Regions from separate parts of the Homo sapiens genome. Here region 1 is linked to region 2. Evidence: promoter capture Hi-C in 16 types of primary human blood cells and fetal thymus (Javierre and others, 2016). All regions are on one chromosome and are shown on one strand. The core of a region is centred on a gene start or on the middle of the fragment in contact, and the rest is flanking DNA. Distances in the headings are between cores, read along the strand shown. Region 1 overlaps AP3B1 (adaptor related protein complex 3 subunit beta 1). Region 2 holds the start of OTP-AS1 (OTP antisense RNA 1).

Region 1 (3,726 bases), core at 1,125-3,624, 380 kb after region 2:
TATTCCAAAATTAGGCAATGGAAACTCTATTCATTAAAGGGTTAGAACGAATACACTAATTCTTATTAAAAGTCCTCTCAGAAAGAAAAGATCCTGAAAAATTAAATAGAACATAAGCCAGCCAAGAGTAACTTATCATATTGAAAATTTTAATCTCTTAAAATACTAGTAGTAAAAATGCTTTTCATACTTGGTGTTTTTAAAAATAATCCCAAACTGATTACCATTAATAAATATTAGAGTGGCTTTGGTCCTACTCTTTATAAACTCAAAAACGTAACTATCACAAAAGAATAAGGGAATCATTCAAAATCTCATAGGGATTTCAATTTTATCATTAGCAATTAAATAATATATAAACTTAGATATAGAAATGTATTAATTCCATGGAGTAGGGTAATATAATATGGAACACTATAGTTAAAAACATTTATTTCAATAAAGTGGTAAACAGTTAATTTATATTATTATAATGTAAACACTAATTCCTATTTCATTTTAAATGAAATTAAGAAAAGCAAAAAAAAAGTACAAAAGTACGTTTTATTAACAATTGTTTATTTTTGTTTTAATTGCTATTAGCAAAAAGAATGAGAAAAAGTGTTACATACACAGGATAATAATTTATGTCAATATCTGTATAAAAAATAAAAATAACTTTAGGTGTTTGTTACCTGGAAGCTTTCTAAAATTTAGAACATTATTACAGTCATACTTTAGCTATAAAAGCAAATATGAAATATTTTTCAATTCAGTATGATGGGACTTGAGAAGCAAGTTAAGACAGCACAGGCTATTCTTAAGTATCTACAGGTATTTTATTGACTTTTGACCCTGTAGTAACTTGGGCCCTCCCCCAGGTTACAGAGCCAAACACCAGGCCACTGATGATACGGCTAGAACAGAAAAGCCTCAAGACACTGTGGATGAGTATGAGGACCACGAACATTAAGTTTTGGGTTCAATCTCTGCACTCCAAAGTCAAATATAAATGGTTCTTAGTTGTGTGTCTCCTCTGTATTAGCATGGACAATTGAGAATTGATTGTAATTTTAATTTAAATCATTTGAGCAGGTATTACAGGTATTACATTCCAAACCAGCAAGACAAGTTACTGGCAAACTATCTTTAATAAGAATTATACAACTGTGCTAAGGGTCCCTCTAAGTCTATCTCCCAATAGGAAGATAGCTTTCATTTTATGTGGCTTTGTAACTTCACTTTTCTTCTTTCTTTTCTCTTTTTTTGAGACAGGGTCTCACTCTGTCACCCAGGCTGGAGTGCAATGGTGTGATCACAGCTCACTACAGCCTTGACCTCCATGGGCTCAGGCGATCCTCCTACCTCAGCTTCCCAAGTAACTGGGACTACAGGCATGTGCCACCATGCCGGATTTAATTTTATATTTTTTGTAGAGACAGGGTCTCCCTATGTTGCCCAGTCTGGTCTTGAACTCCTGGGCTCAAGAGATCTACCCACTTTAGCCTCCCAAAGTACTGGGATGACAGATGTAAGCCACCTTGCCCAGCCTTGACATTTTTTCTTCTAAGAAACAAAAATCTAGACAGCTGCCATTGCTTTCAGAAAAGTTAACAAAAAAAAGAAACCCAAAACAACCTATACACAAAACAAAACTAAACTAGATGTTCCAGCATAAACAGTGGCTACTCTATATTAAAACAAGACTGCAGTATTGCTGGATACTAGGTGTTTCAGGTAAAATTTCATACTGAAGAAGTTATACTTGATAATACAGCATTTTGGTGTTTTAGTAAATTCAATAATTCCAAGGACCCATAAATAAAACAAAACAGTTTCTGTTAGAGAAAATTACCTAGGAAAGTGAAAAGAAGTATTTAAAGCAGAATAAAATTAAAACAGGAAAACTCAAAATATTTATTTTCACTGAAAAGGCTTTTGTTACTCTTTTCCCTATTGAACAACATTAACTGATAAATAAGTTGTATTTTTGTGGTGGTCTGTATCATGACCTTACATCCATTTTCTTATTTTATCACCATCCTATGTGAGATAGATAGAGCTTGTCAAAAACTAAGAAATGAAAGACACCGGGCGCGGTGGCTCATGCCTGTAATCCCAGCACTTTGGGAGGCCGAGACGGGTGGATCATGAGGTCAGGAGATCGAGACCATCCTGGCTAACACAGTGAAACCCCGTCTCTACTAAAAATACAAAAAATTAGCCGGGCGTGGTGCCGGGTGCCTGTAGTCCCAGCCACTCGGGAGGCTGAGGCAGGAGAATGGCGTGAACCCGGGAGGCGGAGCTTGCAGTGAGCCGAGATCGCGCCACTGCGCTCCAGCCTGGGTGACAGAGTAAGACTGTCTCAACAACAACAAAAAAGAAATGAAAGCATGAGACCTCTTGAGCAACTTAAAAAAAAAAAAAACAGTACAAGGTAAATCTATTTTTCAACTAGTACATGCAGTTTTTATTCCGCCGTGATTAGTACAGTGAAGTTAGGCAACTACGGATACAGTAATGGCAGGTCAGCTCTTCTGAAGTCAAATCTAATGTTCTTTCATAGCTATCACAGAATTTCATTTCAATCCTACCTCACTTTTTCTTCCTGCCACCCATTTCCAAACACATAAGGAATGTAAAGCACATAAGAAGTTATAACTTCCCCAAGATTACCAAGCCCATTAGTGGCAGAGTTAGATCTAAAACCCAAATCACCTGTAGCATTTTTCATATGGGGCCTCTCTTGCTCCTGTGTTAACTTAAAAAAATGTTTTTTAAGGTCTGCAGGCCTTCCCTTTGATGCTAAATTTGTTTTCTATGATTGATAATTATATAAGAAAGGGCACACTAAATATACAGTGTGTAGATATTTTTAATGGCAGAAGTATGCCTGCCATGAGATGGTTTGCAACGAATTCCCTTAAGCTCACAGAGGACTGTGCAATCACCAAATGGATAAGAGATAATTATTTTTATCTTTACATTCATTTAAAGCCACTGGAATTCATAAAAATACAAGAGGGCAAACATTAATCACATTTTCTGCTGCCTTTCAGGACAAATAACTTGGATCTCATATTTCAGATGCTTGGTGATAGAAAATATTACTGGTCTAAGAAACAGAAGCTGTATTTACCCCCATGTTGGTCATCTAGCAGCTCTTTATTTACTGGAAGCAGTCTCAGGGGATGGCTATCAAAAGGAAATCTGTATGTAGTACCCAAACGTCCTCCCTTTCAATTAAAAAAGTCCAACTATACTGCTTTATAGAATAGTTCTTCCTGGACATCTACTGAATCTGGTGAAATAAGATAAACTCTCAACCACCTCAAAAAGGGTAACTTTATAAATTACCAAGCTATTATAAAATGTGAATATGCTCTGTATATCTTTCAGGAAAGACCATGCCAGTATGATAAGGATGCTCTGAGATGGGAAAGACAGCCTTAATGCAAAGCAATCAACAACTATACCATCAGAAAAAAAAGGGAGTGTGTGTATATATATATATGTTTAGGGGTTATTATTTCCAAAGAAAACAATGAATTTAAAATTATATATTTATACATATTCAAGTCATCTTCACCTCCACATCGTGTGTTAGTGAACCTACCTGTGTATATTATCCTGGCCAGAAGGGACTGCACCTACATTGGCTACATTTACAACCTTCTGAAAGATCACAGAGGGAGTGAAATTCTGTGGTGCAGCAATGATTACAGCAGAAGTTTCATTCATTCCTGT
Region 2 (3,910 bases), core at 9-2,508:
CGCGCCCTGCGTTTCGTGCCGACAGCGACGCTCGGAGTCCCACCTGGGAAACCTGGGTTGGCCCGGAAACCTCGGGAGGCTCAGAGCTTGCGTGAGGCGCTCGCGGCGCCCCAGCATGCCGCCCCGTCGCGGAGACCTCACCTTGCAGCCCAGAAACCGAACCCAAGCCCACTGCAGGGCGAAGGGCCCACGCGTTCCAACTGGCGCGAATATAACCATTCCCAAGACCGGCCCCTCCCCTCCCCCCACGAGACCCCTCCCGCCGTTCAAGGTCACACCAAAACCCATCATTCTCTATATCACATACTGAAAATGATTTTATTTTATCCATTTACATTTAACTTGATATAAACTTGTCCGGAAAAGTCAAATAATATGCTTTATATTAGCTCAAACATTTATTAAGAAAACCGAATTCCATAAATAAACACAGACATTAAGTTAAAACATATCACAAATTGACCAGTATGTAACAAGAATGCTTTATCTACACAAAACATCCTATTTCACATATTTGTTCATTCTTAGAAAGCGCTTCTGTTCTCTGGGTTTGGATTTGACCAGCACATGCAGAAAGAGCTGATTGTGTTTCTCTGTACAAAGTTGCAGGGTTGTAGATGTCCGAGTGCCCCCATCGGCTGCCAGCAGGTGGCCGAGGGGCACGAGGGACGACAGGACCACCACAAAACAACCAAGGGCACAGAGCAGCGAGAAGACAGAAACAGAAAAGGAAGCAAACAAACCCCAGTCCTGAAGGATCCAGAAAAGAGATGTGGCTTTTGCTTTTACAAAAGAAAATTTTGCTTACACGTTTATTTTATTCTTCCTTATAAAGACTTATCAAAATGGGTCAGATCACCTCTTCCTCGTCACATGACTGCTTTAGTCTACTCCAGCCACCCAATCCACTGTCACGTTCCTCCTGAGAAGCCTTCCCTTCTACACTCTCACACAGTTGTGCTTAAGAAAATGAAAATAAGATAAAATAAAAATAAAAGCGTTATCTTGCAAGCCAAGAGAGGGCTGCACGGATGTGACTGGGTGGACTGGGCAAGGGTAGCGTGGTGGGAGAGGAAAGAAAGACAGGAGCTTGGAGAGTACAAGGATAAATCAAATCATATCAGTTGGGCCCTCAGATGAGGCGGTTGGTAGCAATGCTTGTCCTCCTTTAAGACAAAAATCCCTAACATTGTGCTGTCCCTTGAACACGTCCGTGTGTGACCTAGGTGCACCGTGTCTGTGCGCGCGCGTGTGTAGCGTCTGAGCGTGAGCGAGAGTGCGAGTGTGTGTGTTTCTGCCCACAAACCAGTCCATTGGTGTCTGATTTCAGATCCTGAGTCGACTCCCTGGTACGTAAAATGGCGGGAAGGATACTTTTTGCCGGGCGCGGGAGGAGGGTCGCGAAGTGTGGGGAAAGAGGGGACCGGAGGGGAGGCGGCGGGCGAGGGGGGTCGTAGGCGTCGCGTCGAAGGTGTGGGTGGGAACGCCGCCCGTCAGAAGGCCAGGAGGAGGGCGCGAGCACGGCCAGCGCAAGCAGGGAGGCCAGGGTGGCGGGAAGGGTGGGCTGAGGCGCTGGAGACCGAGCCGAGGGCGCAGCTGGGTGGGAAGGGAAGAGGGGCGGCCGGGAGACGGGGGACCGCGGGCGATCGAAATCAGGCGGAGGGGAGGCCTCGCGGGCTGGGGCTTGGGGTGAGCCCGAGCGAGTGGAGGAGAGAGGCGAGGACGAAACGAGACGGGGCGAAGGCCGGGGCGGGACGGGGCAGGGCGCCGGGGTCCGGGTGCGCGCCGGAAGGGCCTCGGGGCGGCCCCCGGGGCGGTGCTGGGGGCGGAGCGGGCCGGGGCGCGGCTGCATTAAGTGAAGCTCATAGAGACTGTGTGCTCTAGCGCCTTGCGGCGGAGGGAGGCGATGCTGGTGCCCCGCCACACGTCGCTGCTGTCCGGGGAGCTGCAGAGCTGGGGCGAACCGGAGACGTTGCTGGGGCCGGGGAGGGAGGCGGGCACCATGCCGGGGAAGGCGGGCTGGTAGAGGTGCGACTGCAGCCCCGCGCCGTTGGAACCCGCCAGGCTGTTGGACAGGCCCATGGAGTTGGGCGGCGGACCGGCCGCCAGGCTGCACTGGGACAGCGACTGCGCCATGGCCTGCTGCCTGCCCAGCGCCGGCGGCAGAGGCAGCTGTGACACGCCAGGCATGGCGGCCGCCGCCCAGCGGGTGTCGTTGGCGTGGAAAGAGCACAGGCTGTCGCCCATGGCGGCGGCAGCGGCGGCGGCAGCCGACGGGAACTGAGGCAGGCCTGGCGTGGGCAGCAGTGTGCCGGGCGCACGGAACACGTTGGTCGTCTTTTTGCGCTTCTTCCACTTGGCGCGTCGGTTCTGGAACCAGACCTGGAGCGGGCGGGGCGGGAGACAGACAGGGAGCTATTAGCCGGCCCGGCGGCTGGGGAGTTGGGGCTTGAGCCCCAGAAACCCGCCTCGGATACAGCCGCTCTGCCCTGGGAGGAACAAGTGCCGTAGGCCCGACAAGCCCCCATACCCAGCCGGAGACTGTGGCTCCCCACCAACTCCTGGCAACTGGCGCCCCCTGCACCCACCAAGCGCGGAGTCCTGCGCTCCTAAGAGCTCGTGCCCCGAAGAGTTTACGCACTGTGCAAACACACCAAATGTGTGCAGTCTTCACCACGCCCCTGCACATTCTGTGCACTGCACAGATTCACAGGTCTGCAGTCAGGCATGTGTCAAAGTTCGACCCACAGGTGTACAAATGAAGATAAACGTGTACCCATGTAGCTTAATAGCATGCCTTATAACACTGATGTGCTATAGAATTTTCAGAAACGCTGGAAATTTGGAAATTGATGACAGGCTGTGGATGACATAGTTTCAAAATCGAAAGACAAAGGAAAACCCCTAACGCTACGGTTGACAGAGCGGAGAGGTTAATACAGTGATCTGCGTGGGAAAGTGAACGCCACTGAGCTACAGTGTTGTTTGGGTCACCACCATGACTTCCGATTCCTCCCATATTGCTTCGTGCTACTGCCACAACTCTCCGTGCCTCATTCCCAAACCACTCTATGGACACCTTTGTCTGGGCTGTACGAGTGGCTGGAACCTGCTGCCCCAAGAGCCTTCAACCCTATTCTTTTTTTTTTTTTTTTTTTTTTTTTGAGACGGAGTCTTGCTCTGTAGCCCAGGTTGGAGTGCAGTGGCACGATCTCGGCTCACTGCAACCTCCGCTTCCCGGGTCCCGGCTGAAGCAATTCTCCTGCCTCAGCCTCCCGAGTAGCTAGGATTACAGAAACGCGCCACCATGCCCAGATAATTTTTGTACTTTTAGTGGAGACGGGGTTTCACCATGTTGGCCAGGCTGGTCTTGAACTCCTGACCTCGTGATCCACCCGCCTCGGCCTCCCAAAGTGCTAGGATTACAGACGTGAGCCACCGCGCCAAGCCAAAGTCTATTCCTTTCAGGAACTTACCAAGGGTCCCAAGTAACAAGGCCTCCAGTTCCCTCAAGTCGCCCCCATTTCATTTATAAACTAAAAGCAAATTTTCGGACCAATATGAATTAAAGGAGGTCACATTTCACTACGAGATATATGAATCAAATTTAATTTTGCTCAGACAAACCCAAACGTCCTTTTTCAGGGAAATGAGTTTGATAAAATACACTCCAAATGAAAACAGCCTTCCTATTTTTTTTTTTTTTAACAGTGGCCCGGGAGTTACAGACCCTGTCAGGCAAATTTGCCTAGGCATGTCAAACCCTCTATCACAGAAGAAGAGTTCTGCCTGAAAGATATCACATAAGCTGCCAATCCAAGATAACTCCCATCTCCCCCTATTTGAATGTGATCTTTTTAAATGACAATAATAATAATAATAATTTGCCAGCAAGCCTGCCTGGAAGACT

What was found. Contacts are between HindIII fragments. The CHiCAGO score rates a contact against its expected background, and 5 or more counts as called.
Region 1: a contact is called between a fragment that was not itself captured here and the fragment with the promoter of OTP-AS1 in region 2, in 2 of 17 cell types (M0 macrophages and M2 macrophages). The highest score is 6.1, in M0 macrophages.

The regions. Positions count from the first base shown.
Region 1 is chr5:78,011,815-78,015,540 of GRCh38, forward strand. AP3B1 (adaptor related protein complex 3 subunit beta 1) reads right to left here. Exons shown (of 27, transcript NM_003664.5): 26 at 3,596-3,726. Among named protein-coding and RNA genes, the nearest start is that of TBCA, 240 kb to the left of the region's middle. The HindIII fragment of the contact is 3,391 bases long and covers 680-3,726 here.
Region 2 is chr5:77,628,413-77,632,322 of GRCh38, forward strand. It overlaps OTP-AS1 (OTP antisense RNA 1), which reads left to right and starts at 1,259. Exons shown (of 2, transcript NR_198942.1): 1 at 1,259-1,349. OTP (orthopedia homeobox) reads right to left here. Exons shown (of 3, transcript NM_032109.3): 3 at 300-2,382. The coding sequence ends at 1,852. RefSeq lists enhancers at 1-490, 2,248-2,297, 3,781-3,910 and a silencer at 1,638-2,077. The HindIII fragment of the contact is 19,458 bases long and covers 1-3,910 here.